2 separate regions of the Homo sapiens genome follow, and region 2 is linked to region 1. The links are contacts of gene promoters, found by promoter capture Hi-C in human tissues and cell types (Jung and others, 2019). All regions are on one chromosome and are shown on one strand. Each heading gives the region's core, a stretch centred on a gene start or on the middle of the fragment in contact. The rest is flanking DNA. Distances are from core to core; before and after follow the strand shown.

Region 1 (2,700 bases), core at 109-2,608:
AAAGTGCTGGGATTACAGGTGTGAGCCACTGCGCCCGGCTGTTTTAAACTCTTTACATTTACCAAGCCCTTTAATCGTGCAGGTATTATTATTATTCACATTATACGGACAAGAAAACTGACACGTAATTTACCCAAGGTCACACAGCTAGTGAGTAACTGGTAGGGAATATTCCAACCTAAGCATTCTTAATACTAGAATACAGTGCCTTAGTTACTCAACACTTAAACTGTACCACCTTAAAGACAATAACAAGAAGTGTGTGAAAATGTGGAAAGGCTTTGATGATGCTGGATGCGTTATAAACAGAAAGGCTTTTAAAATAAACTTTTTATTCAATTATGACACACATACTGAAAAGTGCATAAACGATGTTCAGTGAATTTTCATAAAGTGAACCCACATCAAGGAACAGAAAACGGAGCCAGGCGTTGTGGCTCAGGCCTGTAAACCCAGCACTTTGGCAGGAGGATAACTTGAAGCCAGGAGTTGGAGACCAGCCTGAGCAACAGAGCGAAATCCTGTCTCAAAGGAAAAAAAAAAAACAAACAAAAAACAAAAACAATAACCAGACCACCCATCCCCATTTAGAATTTCTTTTTGTGCTAAGTTTCAAAATTCAAAATAAGCATTCACTTGTTTTCTACAAACTGCATTCTATAGTCGATCTCAAACCTTGATTGAGATACATTTCCATTATAGTATACTCTTTCTAGAGCACTGATCTCAAAATGTGGTGCCCAGCCAAGTAGCGTTGGACTTTCAAATTCAAGGATCCCAAGCTAGACCAGCAGAACAGGAATTCTGGGAGTGGAGCCCGGCAATTTGTGTTTTAGCAAGCCCCCAGGCTGATTCTGATGCATCTTAAGGTTGGAGAAGCATGGATATTGTCAGTTGTAATAGTTGTTGTTCGTGATCACGTAGTAACTGTTAGATGAAAACTAGGGTTTAAAAGTGTTACGCTTGTCTAATAGTGACAAGTTCTCATTACCCATCTCTTTCTGAAATAGGCTGCAGGCAAATGCGTTTTCATTTTAAATAACCGTGTTGTTGTTCCAGTCAAGGTTGCATTTTACAAGGAATAAGGAAGATAAAGCTGCCTCCTCCTATCCTAATCTCGCTCCTCGCTCAGTATGGAGTCGTCCGGTTTACCTACAAAGCCCTGCCCTAGACTGGCGGCAAATTCAACGCCCAGAGGCAGGAACAGGTGTCGGCCAATCAGAAGCCGGAACAGGTGTCGGCCAATCAGAAGCCAGGCTTGAACCGCTCGCCCATGTCCCGCCGGCGGAAGAGACTCTCCGCGGCCACGCCCCGAGCCCTCGAATGCGAGCCAATCGTTGCTCGGCGCCTGAAGGGGCAGTACCCAAGCGAGCCATTTAACATGGCGGAGGATGTTTCCTCAGCGGCCCCGAGCCCGCGGGGCTGTGCGGATGGTAGGGATGCCGACCCTACTGAGGAGCAGATGGCAGAAACAGAGAGAAACGACGAGGAGCAGTTCGAATGCCAGGAACTGCTCGAGTGCCAGGTGCAGGTGGGGGCCCCCGAGGAGGAGGAGGAGGAGGAGGAGGACGCGGGCCTGGTGGCCGAGGCCGAGGCCGTGGCTGCCGGCTGGATGCTCGATTTCCTCTGCCTCTCTCTTTGCCGAGCTTTCCGCGACGGCCGCTCCGAGGACTTCCGCAGGACCCGCAACAGCGCAGAGGGTGAGTGCAGACCGCGTCCGGGCCGGGACTACGCGGGGGGCGGATGCGGGCTCCGTGGTGCGCGGCAGAGGGCTGGTTCCCTACGTCGCCGAGGGAGGGGCTGCTGCGGCCGATTAGCTGGGAGTCCGAGGCTCCGGGCTGAACTTTGTTCGAATCCCGGTTCGCCCGTTGTCAGCACCTGAGTTTTTCTCAGATTGATTTCCTCTTCGATAAAATGAAAATAAGACCCTGTTTAGGTTTGATGCAAGCATTAAATGAGTTAAAATGTATACAGTTCCACTCAACCCAGTACCTTTGTCTCTTTTGGCGCTTTCTACTCAGGTATTCCTGTAGTAATATTCAGCAGTCCCTGTGGCCTCCAGTAACCCCCGAGGCATCAGTGTTTTATGTTAATTTGTGAGCTATTAAATCTCATTTGGCCTGCTGGCTCTACAGCAGTTACTTTTATTCTGTGTAGTCTCAGAATAAAAGTAAATGTTGGCCACATGCCTGCAAGTCCCAGCTACTTGGGAGCCTGAGGTGGGAGGATCGCTTGAACCCAAGAGGCAGAGGTTGCAGTGAGTCGAGATCGTGCCACTACAGTCCTGCCTGGGTAACAGAGTGATACCCTGTATGAATAAATAAATGAATGAATGAAACTGTTCATGAAATCTGCTGCACCCCGCCCCCGTCCCAAGATGGGGTCTCACTGTCACCCAGGCTGGAGAGTGTAGTGGCGCCATCACAGCTCACTGCAGGCTCGACCTCCTCAGGCTCAGGTATCCTCCCGCTTCAGCTTCTGGAGTAGCTGGGTCTGCAGGCGTGCACCACCACCCGCAGCTGTAAGATTACAGGTATGAGCCACCGCGCCTGGCCTAGTGTAGCTTTTTGAAAAACAACAGAAAGATGTTCTGGTACTTCATTCATAGTTGGCGCTAAAATTACTGTGCAAGTATATATTTATAATACTATAATTATGCTATTTAATAGAATTCTTAGACATTTTGACACATTTCATCTT
Region 2 (2,700 bases), core at 71-2,570, 720 kb before region 1:
GAACACAGCTCCTCACCAGCAACAGAACAAAGCTGGATGGAGAATGACTTTGACAAGTTGAGAGAAGAAGGCTTCAGAAGATCCAACTTCTCCGAGCTAAAGGAGGAAGTTCGAACCCATTGCAAAGAAGCTAAAAACCATGAAAAAAGACTGGACGAATGGCTAACTAGAATAACGAATGTAGAGAAGTCCTTAAATGACCTGATGGAGCTGAAAAACATGGCATGAGAACTATGTGACGAATGCACAAGCTTCAGTAGCCGATTCAATAAACTGGAAGAAAGAGTATCAGTGATGGAAGATCAAATGAGTGAAATGAAGTGAGAAGAGAAATTTAGGGAAAAAAGAGTAAAAAGAAACCAAAAAAGCCTCCAAGAAATATGGGACTATGTGAATAGACCAAATCTATGTCTGATTGGTGTACCTGAAAGTGACGGGGAGAATGGAACCAAGTTGGAAAACACTCTGCAGGATATTATCCAGGAGAACTTCCCCAACCAGCAAGGTAGGCCAACATTCAAATTCAGGAAATACACACAACGCCACAAAGATACTCCTCAAGAAGAGCAACTCTAAGACACATAATTGTCAGATTCAACAAAGTTGAAATGAAGGAAAAAATGTTAAGGGCAGCCAGAGAGAAAGGTCGGGTTACCCACAAAGGGAAGCCCATCAGACTAACAGCAGAACTCTCAGCAGAAACTCTACAAGCCAGAAGAGAGTGGGGCCAATATTCAACGTTCTTAAAGAAAAGAATTTTCAACCCAGAATTTCATATCCAGCCAAACTAAGCTTCATAAGTGAAGGAGAAATAAAATACTTTACAGATAAGCAAATGCTGAGAGATTTTGTCACCACCAGGCATGCCCTACAAGAGCTCCTGAAGGAAGCACTAAACATGGAAAGGAATAACTGGTACCAGCCACTGCAAAAACATGCCAAACTGTGAAGACCATCCCTACAAGAGCTCCTGAAGGAAGCACTAAACATGGAAAGGAATAACTGGTACCAGCCACTGCAAAAACATGCGAAACTGTGAAGACCATCGATGCTATGAAGAAACTGCATCAACTAACGAGCAAAATAACCAGCTAACATCATAACGACAGGATCAAATTCACACATAACAATATTAACCTTAAATGTAAATGGGCTAAATGTTCCAATTAAAAGACACAGACTGGCAAATTGGATAAAGAATCAAGACCCATCAGTGTGCTATATTCAGGAAACCCATCTCACATGCAGAGACACACATAGGCTCAAAATAAATGGATGGAGGAAGATCTACCAAGCAAATGGAAAACATAAAAAGGCAGGGGTTACAATCCTAGTCTCTGATAAAACAGACTTTAAACCAACAAAGATCAAAAGAGACAACGAAGGCCATTACATAATGGTAAAGGGATGAATTCAACAAGAAGAGCTAACTATCCTAAATATATATGCACCCAATACAGGAGCACACAGATTCATAAAGCAAGTCCTTAGAGACATACAAACAGACTTAGACTACCACACAATAATAATGGGAGACTTTAACACCCCGCTGTCAACATTAGACAGATCAACGACACAGAAAGTTAACAAGGATATCCAGGAATTGAACTCAGTTCTGCACCAAGCGGACCTAATAGACATCTACAGAACTCTCCAACCCAAATCAACAGAATATGCATTCTTCTCAGCACCACATCACATTTATTCCAAAATTGACTCCATAGTTGGAAGTAAAGCACTCCTCAGCATATGTAGAAGAACAGAAATTATAACAAACTGTCTCTCAGACCACAGTGCAATCAAACTAGAACTCAGGATTAAGAAACTCACTCAAAACCACTCAACTACATGGAAACTGAACAACCTGCTCCTGAATGACTACTGGGTACATAACGAAATGAAGGCAGAAATAAAGATGTTCTTTGAAACCAATGAGAACAAAGACAAAACATAACACAATCTCTGGGACACATTTAAAGCAGTGTGTAGAGGGAAATTTATAGCACTAAATGCCCACAACAGAAAGCAGGAAAGATCTAAAATTGACACCGTAACATCGCAATTAAAAGAACTAGAGACCCAAGAGCAAACACATTCAAAAGCTAGCAGAAGGCAAGAAATAACTAAGATCAGAGCAGAACTGAAGGAGACAGAGACACAAAAAACCTTTCAAAAAATCAATGAATCCAGGAGCTGGTTTTTTGAAAATATCAGCCAAATTGATAGACTGCTAGCAAGATTAATAAAGAAGAAAAGAGAGGAGAATCAAATTGATGCAATAAAAAATGATAAAGGGGATATCACCACCGATGCCACAGAAATACAAACTACCATCAGAGAATACTATTAACACCTCTATGCAAATAAACTAGAAAATCTAGAAGAAATGGATAAATTCCTGGACACATGCACCCTACCAAGACTGAACCAGGAAGAAGTTGAATCCCTGAATAGACCAATAACAGGCTCTGAAATGGAGGCAATAATTAATAGCGTACCAACCAAAAAAAGTCCAGGACCAGATGGATTCACAGCCGAATTCTACCAGGGGTACAAGGAGGAGCTAGTTCCATTCCTTCTGGAACTATTCCAATAAATGGAAAAAGAGGGAATCCTCCCTAACTCATTTTATGAAACCAGCATCATCCTGATACCAAAGCCTGATAGAGGCACAACAAAAAAAAAAGAATTTTAGACCAA

What was found. Contacts are between HindIII fragments. The study calls those that stand out against the background at their distance.
Region 2: a contact is called between a fragment that was not itself captured here and the fragment with the promoter of TERF1 in region 1, in 2 of the 25 tissues and cell types used here (aorta and dorsolateral prefrontal cortex).

Annotation. Positions count from the first base shown.
Region 1 is chr8:73,007,506-73,010,205 of GRCh38, forward strand. It overlaps TERF1 (telomeric repeat binding factor 1), which reads left to right and starts at 1,359. Exons shown (of 10, transcript NM_017489.3): 1 at 1,359-1,700. The coding sequence starts at 1,382. RefSeq lists silencers at 1,125-1,224, 1,255-1,304. The HindIII fragment of the contact is 12,916 bases long and covers 1-2,700 here.
Region 2 is chr8:72,292,139-72,294,838 of GRCh38, forward strand. No RefSeq gene overlaps it. Among named protein-coding and RNA genes, the nearest start is that of TRPA1, 220 kb to the left of the region's middle. The HindIII fragment of the contact is 5,071 bases long and covers 1-2,700 here.